Linked DNA regions of Homo sapiens: region 2 is linked to region 1. Evidence: promoter capture Hi-C in human tissues and cell types (Jung and others, 2019). All regions are on one chromosome and are shown on one strand. The core of a region is centred on a gene start or on the middle of the fragment in contact, and the rest is flanking DNA. Distances in the headings are between cores, read along the strand shown. Region 1 holds the start of FBXO27 (F-box protein 27). Region 2 has its middle 15 kb from the start of FBXO17.

What was found. Contacts are between HindIII fragments. The study calls those that stand out against the background at their distance.
Region 2: a contact is called between a fragment that was not itself captured here and the fragment with the promoter of FBXO27 in region 1, in 1 of the 25 tissues and cell types used here (hippocampus).

Annotation. Positions count from the first base shown.
Region 1 is chr19:39,030,169-39,034,600 of GRCh38, forward strand. FBXO27 (F-box protein 27) reads right to left here and starts at 2,381. Exons shown (of 6, transcript NM_178820.5): 1 at 2,335-2,381; 2 at 1,696-2,085; 3 at 1,041-1,152; 4 at 861-956. The coding sequence starts at 2,059. RefSeq lists enhancers at 960-1,069, 1,476-2,268 and silencers at 1,178-1,360, 1,210-1,449, 1,600-1,679, 1,880-2,029, 2,090-2,159. The HindIII fragment of the contact is 13,585 bases long and covers 897-4,432 here.
Region 2 is chr19:38,988,468-38,992,899 of GRCh38, forward strand. No RefSeq gene overlaps it. Among named protein-coding and RNA genes, the nearest start is that of FBXO17, 15 kb to the left of the region's middle. The HindIII fragment of the contact is 7,056 bases long and covers 1-4,432 here.

The DNA of each region.
Region 1 (4,432 bases), core at 1,131-3,630:
ATTTCCTGAGAAGCTCTGAATGATCTGAGGGCTTGAAATACACCTTCCCACAGGATCAAGGTTCAAAAAAAGGTGCTCACATAAAGTACTTGCTATGTGTTTGCCATATAATAATTGTCATTGCAAGAGCCCTATCTTGTAAACAGGGGAAACAGAGGTATGCTGTGACTTGCCCAAGGCTACAAAGCCACAGAGCTAGGGTTTGAATCTGGGAGGTCTGGCTCCAGAACCTAAGCTCTTGGCTAACTATGCTGTTTTCTCCTCCTAAGGCAAGGAGCATCTCATTCATTCACAGACAAGACTGAGCTGGGCCAAAGGTCTCTGTACTGGATCTCATCTTCTGTCTTCCAATCCACATCCTTTTGGGCATGAGCAGAAAGTGTGTACTCTGCTAATTACTAGAACTGTGAGTGTGTTTTTCACTTCACCTCCCTGAACTTCAGTTTCTTTTCTTTCTTTTTTTTTTCCAGGACTGAGTCTCACTCTGTCGTCCAGGCTGGAGTGTAGTGGTACAACCTCCACCTCCTGGGTTCAAGTGATTCTCCTGCCTCAGCCTCCCAAGTATGTGGGACTACAGGTGTGCACTACCAGGCCCGGCTAATTTTTTTTTTGTATTTTTAGTAGAGACGAGGTTTTGCCATGCTGGTTGGGCTGGTCTCGAACTCCTGACCTCAAGTGATCTGCCTGCCTCGACCCCCCAAAGTGCTGGGATTATAGGTGTGAGCCACCATGGCTGGCCTGAACTTCAGATTTTTTATCTGTAAGGAGGGGTTAGGAGGCCTAAATTAAGTCACCCATAAAAAGGCCATGTCACATGCAGTCAGTGCTTAGCAAGGGGCTATTTTAATCGTCACACTCACCAGTCAGAGACACAAATCTCAATCCTGCCACTATCCAGCAGTTCTGGCCACAGACCCTCCTCCTCTAGGTCCAAGACCTGCTTCTTGCAACACCAGCTGGGAATGCAGGAGACAGGGTAATGAGAACAGGCAGGCCTTTCTCAACAAGGGGCCGGACCTTTGGATAGCAGGGGCATTCACCTGAATGAAGTCACGAAGCACGTCTGAGAAGGGGCCCCAGGCACGGTTGTCCTGTTTTCCTCCACCACCCAGCCGTCCCCACCGTGTTGCACCATCCACTTTCGGAGGCCTTCTGTGAAATAAAAAAGGCTTGTGCCCAAGTTCCAGTCGCCCGCCTGTTGGTTCCTAGTGAGACCCCGCCCCTAGCCCCTCCCACGTGCTCACAGTGCAGCTCACTCACCTGACCCTTCCCACCGAGGCCCCGCCCCCTTCCCCTCCCACCAGCTCAGGGCAAAGCCCCGCTCCTCTGGCCCTTCTCACTGATTTGCAGCAAAGCCCTGCCCCTCCAACCCCTCTCTCGGGCTCCCAGAACTGCCCCACTCCCACCCCTCCCACAGGCAAACGGTGAAGCCCTGCCCAGTCAGCCCTGCACCCTGCGTGCCAATGCTGCCTCGTCCCTCCGACACCTCCCACCGGCTCCCAATGCTGCCCCGCCCCTCCGGCACCTCACACCGGCTCCCAATGCTGCCCCGCCTCTCCGACTCCTCCCACCGGTCCCACTGCGGCCCTGCCCCTGCGGCCCCTAGTACCGGTCCCAGTGCGGCCCCGCCCCTCCGGCCCCGCTACCGCTCCCACTGTGGCCCAGCATCCTGGACTTCCTCTTCCGAGATCCCACCTTGGCCGCAGGGGTTGCGAATAAGGTTGCGTCCGATGGGTCTGCGCGCGCAGAAGCGGCCCAGGGGGCAAGGCCTGGCGTTACGGGCGGGAGACTGGCAGCTGCGGGCGAGGTGCAGCAGCGCGCGGCCGGTGGCGCCGTGGTCGCGGGCCAGGATCAGCAGCCACAGGGCCTGGCCGTCCACCAGGGCTCGCCAGCCCCGGCACACTTGGCGGCAGCGCCCGAGCAGCGTGCGCGGGGGGACGTGGCTCAGCACCACCAGAAGCAGCTCTGGGGGTAGTTGGCTCAGGTCCAGCGCCTCTTCGGGTTCCGGCTCCGGCGCGGGGACCCGGGCGGCCCGGCCCCTGGAGACCGAGGCGCCCATGGTCCCCCCGCCAGGCCCGGCTGTGGCTGCGGGAGAGGAAGGGTCAAGGCGTCAGGGACCAGCAGCCTCCGCGGCGCGCAGCCTCTGCCTGCCCTGATTCTGCCAGCCGCACCCCCGTCTTCACCATCCCTGGGCCCCGTCCCCAAGTCCCCATCCCCCAGCCCGTCCTTGATAGCCCCGATATCCCGGAGACCCCGCGGTCTGTGTGTATGCCCCGAATTGCATGCAATCAGCCCCCCTCGGCGGCCGCACCGACACCGCACCCCAAGTCCTACCCCGGGGCCTGGCGGCGCTCCTCGCCGGGATGCCCTAGCTGTGCCGCAAGCTCCCCACGCCCCTCTGCGTCCTTTTTACTCGCCGGCCCCTCCCCTCTTACTAGCCAGCTTCACCCACCCCTGCATCCTCTTTCTTACTCGCCAGCCCCTCCCGCCTGCTCCCTCCCGCTCTCCAAACCCAACCTGCTTCCCGCGACGGGGCCAGGTGCAGCCAGGAGCCAAGGCCTGCTGCTCACAGCCGTCCCCTCCAGCCGGCCCCTTGAAGTGTCCCTAATTCGTTAGTAGCAATGAGACGTCTGGCTCTGAGCAACCATTGTTATTTTGGTCAGGCTTCTGAGTGGGAGGCCTCGTATCCGTTAACGTGTTAAAAAATTTCCATCACCTTTAAGGTCGGGCGTGGTTATCTTCATTTCACAGGAGAAAACAGGCTCCGGCTGCTAAAAATTAATGCAACCAATAGTAACACCAGCCAACTTTTATGGACGGTTTTACTGCCAGCCAGGGTGGCAACCCCATGAAGTAGGTGCTGTTATGCCCTTTACTTCACAGGTGAAAAAACTGAGACCAGCAGAGGCCAAGTGGCTTGTCTATGATCACCAGCTAGTAGGGATTTGAATCCAGCCAGCCTAGCTCCGGAATTCCTCATTTTAACCTCTAGATCAGCTCTGTCCAATAAAAATACAATTGTGGCTGGGTGCGGTGACTCATGCCCGTAATCCCAGCACTTTGGGAGGCCAAGGCAGGCGGATCGCTTGAGGTCAGAAGTTCGAGACCAGCCTGGCCAACATGGTGAAACCCCGTCTCTACTAAAAATACAAAAATTAGCTGGGCGTGGTAGCACGCGCCTGTAATCCCAGCTAATTTGGAGGCTTAGGCAGGAGAATTGCTTGAATCCGGGAGGGGGAGGTTGCAGTGAGCAGAGATTGCACCACTGCACTCCAGCCTGTGCAAAAGAGTGAGTGAGACTCCGTCTCAAAAAACAAACAGAAAAAAAAAATTGTGAAAGTTGATCATGTGAATTGGATCCTTCTTGTCATATCCAACTAAAACAAAGTTGAGAGGCCGGGGGGAAAACACTTAGGGCAGATACCATTGCTCCAAGAAAGTGATTCTCTGCAAGCCTGGCTGTTAAAACTGCCTGTTGTAACCTGGAAGCAGTCTAACTGGTACTGAAAAAACCTGCCGTGACTCTAAGACTAGTTTTTCCCTCTGCTGTCACTTACCAGTCAGAACTTGCCAGCTCCCCAGAACGTTGCTAGTGTCAATGAACTTTCTTGCAAAACAATACCTAACATTTCTGTTTCTTATAAAAACCTCTAACCTCTTTGTTCTTTGAAAGTTCTGAAGACCGCCTGGTCTGTGTGGATGCCTCGAATGTCAATTCTTGCTTCCCAAATAAAACATTTTATTATTTTTTTGAGACAGAGTCTCGCTCTGTCGCCCAGGCTGGAGGGCAGTGATGCAATCTCGTCTCACTGCAACCTCCGCCTCATGGGTTCAAGCGATTCTCCTGCCTCAGCCTCCCGAGTAGCTGGGATTACAGGCGCATGCCACCATGCCCAGCTAATTTTTGTATTTTTAGTAGAGACGGGGTTTCACCATGTTGGCCAGGATGGTCTCAAACTCCCGACCTCAGGTGATCTGCCCGCCTCAGCCTCCCAAAGTGCTGGGATCGCAGGCATGAGCCACCGCAACAAAACATTTTAAATCGAGAGATTTGTCTCTATATCTCTATATTTTATTTGGCTTCGACATAACGTGAGCTGTATACATAGTTTAAGACATCAACAAACAAAACCAGACATGGATTCTTCCCCACAAAGAACTTACCTTCTAGAGGGAGAGACATGATAAACAGTTGGCATAATGAGCAAATTACGTAGTATCAGGGAAATAATTAAATATAAAACCTCCAGGCCGGGCATGATGGCTCACGCCTGTAATCCCAGAACTTTGGGAGGCTGAGGCAGGCGGATCACTTGAGGTCAGGAGTGTGAGACCAGCCTGGCCAAAATGGCGAAACTCCGTCTCTACTGAAAATACAAAAATTAGCCGGGCATGGTGGCGCATGCCTGTGATCCCAGCTACTCGGGAAGCT
Region 2 (4,432 bases), core at 1,143-3,642, 42 kb before region 1:
AAAAAAAAAAAAAAAAAAAAAAAAAGAAAGAAAGAGAAAAGATAACAATTTTGCTAGCTAGGTGAGATTAATTCTTGGCCAGATAATTTATTATTGGGAAGGGAGTTCTGACTTTCTAGTTACGGAAAAAAAACCTTAGCCTGGCATGGTGGCTCACACCTGTAAGCCCAGCACTTTGGGAGGCTGAGGCAGGAGGATCACTGGAGCCCAGGAGTTTGAGACCAGCCTGGACAACCTAGGGAGACCCCCGTCTCTACAAAAAATTTAAAAAATTAGATGGGCATGGTGGCATGCACCCATGGTCCCAGCTACGTGGGAGGCTGAGGTGGGAGAATCGCTTGAGCCCAGGAGGTCAAGGCTGCAGTGAGGTGTGTTTGCACCATAGCACTATAACCTGGGCAACAGAGCGAGACCCTGTCTCAAAACAAAACAAAACAAAACAACCTTTTCAAAAATGCTGCTGAGCCCTTCTAAAATTGTTACCATAACAAATGGGCTTCATGGGCTACAAAGGTTTGGTCCTCTGGCCTTCAGTCTGGGTTCATGGTGTACCATCAGCTCACTTTCCTAACCAGTGACATTAGAGGGAAGTCTGTAGCTACCCAGGTGGCTCGCGGCTGGACTGGCATCAGCCGGTCTCTCTGTCGCCCAGCTCTATTCTGCATTCTTTCTGCATTCCATCTCACCGTCTGGCCTGGCCACGGCCCCTGAGAGTAGTTACATGATGCCTGGCAGGCCGATGATATTGCCTGTCACCCCTTCGGCCAGCTTTCCTCCTGGCCAGGCTGATGTTGGGGTTGTGACCCAGAGATGAACAGGCAGGTCTCAGGGGGCCCCTTGGGGAGGCTGTAGATTGTTCCTGGGAGGGATCAGCTCTCATAATGTCAACAGAGTGCAAGGGGGATGCAACTCATCTGTCATCTACCAGCCCAGGGGCGGCACCGTGTGTGGCTGCCAGGCTCAGCTTACAAACCTCAGAGTCTGGAGACCTGGAGGAGGGGAGGCGAGGAGCCCATGTTGGGGGAGATCAAATAACAGGCTCTGGGCAGGCTGGAGGGGGACAGAGGGAGGAGGCTGGCCAAGCAATCTCCAAGCCCAGCCCTGCCACCAGTCAATCCACAGATGAGCGCCTACTGCATGCAGCCCTCCCTCCCTCCCTCTCTCCCTCCCTCCCTCTCTCCCTCCCTCTCTCTCTTTCTCCTTCTTTCTTTCCTTCTTTCTTGCTTTCTTTCTTTCTTTCTTTCTTTCTTTCCTTTCTTTTTTCTCTCTCTCTTTCTCTCTCTTTCTTTCTTTCTCTCTCTGTCTCTCTCTCTCTTTCTTTCTTTCTTTCTTTCTTCCTTTCTTTCAGACAGGGTCTCACTCTGTTGCCCAGGCTGGAGTGCAGTGGTGCCATCATAGCTCACTGCAGCCTCCAACGCCTACACTCAAGCATTCCTACTGCCTCAGCCTCCTAAGTAACTGGGATTACAGGTGCACACCACCACACTCAGCTAATTTTTTTATTTTTATTTTTTTAATAGAGACAGAGTTTCACTATGTTGCCCAGGCTGGTCTTGAACTCCCGGGCTCAAGTGATCCTCCTGCCTCAGCCTCCCAGAGTGCTGGGATTACAGGTGTTTGCCACCACGCCCAGCCTAACACCTGTTATGTGCAGTGCGCTCTCTTAGGGTTCTGCTGTCTCGAAGGTGGAGGAGTGATAACCCAGCTGCGGGATGATCCTGTCTGAGGGATGATGGCAGAAGTCAGGCGTGTTCTGAATGTCCTTTGAAGGAAAGATAAAAGGATTTGCTGCTGGACTGGATTTGGTGTGAGAAATGGGGAGAGACAGGAGTCCAGGACAAGGCCAGGCTCTTGGGTCTGGCAGCTGGTGAAATAAGAGTGCCGCTCCCTGAAGATGGCGTGCGGAATCTGAATAGGTTCAGAAGGTTGCAAAATCTTTCTGGGTATGTGCTATGAACTTCAAGGCCAATGTTTCTCTACATTTTGTAACCATAGTCTGAGTAAGAAATGCATTCTGGCCGGGTGCGGTGGCTCACACCTGTACTCCCAGCACTTTGGGAGGCCGAGGTGGGTGGATCACCTGAGGTTAGGAGTTCAAGACCAGCCTGGCCAACATGGTGAGACCCTGTCTCTACAAAAATACAAAAATTAGACAGGTGTGGTGGCGGGCGACTGTAATCCTAGCTACTCGGGAGGGTGAGGCAGGACAATTGTTTGAACCTGGGAGGCAGAGATTGCAGTGAGCTGAGATTGTGCCATTGCACTCCAGCCTGGGTGAGAGAGTAAGATTCCATCTAAAAAAAAAAAAAAAAGAAATGTATTTTACACAACAATCAATACACCTGAAAGTAGAATTTCTGCAGCAATGTTTACCCGTTGCTGTGTGCAGTGCACTCTGATGTTTTCTATTGAATTTCATTTTTTAAAAATTGTGCTGGTTGTGACTTTTATCCGTTGGTCATGATCTAAAAATTGAAAATTATCATTCTAGGTTCTACCTCTTCAAGACTTAGCTTGAGTTCTTTACTGCCCTGGAGAAGTCTGGGAGTGTGGCCGGGTGACCACGGGGCAGCCAGAGCCTGGCAGGGATGACTGGAAGGAGGGGAGCTAAGACTTTGCAGTGTTCCTCCAGGGATGATGATGTAATCATGGAAGGGCTCAAAGCCTTTCCCAAGGACAGGGTCAAGGCTACTAAGTCCAAGTAGCAGGGACAGGCACAGCCCGGCCAGTAAGGGTGTGTGGCCCGGGGCTGGTGCCTCCCTTACTCCCTGGTCCTGCAGAGGACGCCTGGGATCTGCAGCACTGTGGCAATGACATGTTGGGGAGAAGGGACCCTCGCAGGCTCCCAGACCTGCTTTGTGACTTACTGAGTGAGTGCCCGACCCCTGCCTCACCAGCCCTGGGCTTCAGAGCCTGAGAATGAAACCCGCCCTTCTTCCACCTCCTCTCCTGCCCATCTCCTTCCCTCCTTCCTCTTCCCAGCTGGTGCCACGAGGAGCTGGCGGACCTCCAAGAGAATTGGCCAAGAATGCAGCCTCTGGACAGTGACCTGGGTGAGAATCATCACAGTGGCTCACCCCGGACCCAGGAATTTCACTTAGTCCTTGTCATCATCCACCAATGCGGGACAGCTCGGCCCAGATTGTTCATGGCTCAAGACCCCCACCCCACCCCATTCTGCTTGGTTGGGCTGTGTTGTTTATTTTATTTAATGAATTAATTTATTTATTTGAAACAGAATCTTGCTCTGTTGCCCAGGCTGGAGTGCAATGGCACGATCTCAGTTCACTGCAACCTCTGTCTCCCGGGTTCAACTGATTCTCCTTGCCATGGTCCCCTAAGTAGCTAGGATTACAGGTGCCTGCCACCACACCCGGCTACTTTTCATGTTTTTAGTAGAGACAGGGTTTCATTGTGTTGGCTGGGCAGGTCTTGAACTCCTGACCTCAGCTGATCTGCCTGTCTCAGCCTCCCAAAGTGCTGGGATTACAGGCATGAGCCACCATGCCCGGCCGCACTGTGCTGTTTTTAAGCCTCTTGAATATCATCACCTCTCTTTGTTTACAGATGGGGAAACAGTTTACAGACGGGGAAACAGGCTCAGAGGGAAAAAATACCTTTTCAGGGTTTTCCAGGCAAAGAGTGGCAGAGCAGAGACCAACCTCCGCCTGGCCAAAGCCCTTCTCTGCTTCCTGTCCATTTGTGGGTGATCTGGTGGTTTCTCCTTTTCTTTCTTTCTCTCTCTCTCTCTTTCCTTTCTGACAGAGTCTTGCTTTGTCGCCCAGGCTGGAGTGCAATGGTGTCATCTCGGCTCACTGCAACCTCTACCTCACGGGTTCAAGCGATTCTCCCACCTCAGCCTCCCAGGTAGCTGGGACTACAGGCGTGTACCACCACACCTTGCTTTTTTTTTTTTTTTTTTTTTTGTATTTTTAGTAGAGACGGGGTTTCACCATGTTGGCCAGGCTGGTTTCGCACTCCTGACCTCAAGTGATCTGCCCACCTTGGCCTCCCAAAGTGCTGGGATTATAGGCATGAGCCACTGCTCCCGGCCAGATCTGGTGGGGTTTTTTTGAGACACAGCCAGATCTTCACAGTGCCAGGTGGGGTGATGTGCAGGACTGCAGCTGTGTCTGGATTCTGGACAAGGCTCCAAATGATCACCACCATATCTTGGCTGTTCAGTTAGGTGGGTCTGGGCTAGAGATGAGAAAGGAGGGGTGAGGGAGGAGGAGAGGAATCTGAGCCTCAGATCTGAGGCTGCAGGCCTCTCTGCATCATCTCCTCTTCCACATGGTACCCACTTTTGGGAAAGGCATCCGGATGTGTGCATTGAACAGTATACAAGGGCCTGTGGTCCTGGGACAATATTTTAACACAGGCTTTATTATTATTTGGGTATAGTAAAACCAAGAGATCCTGAGATGACAGT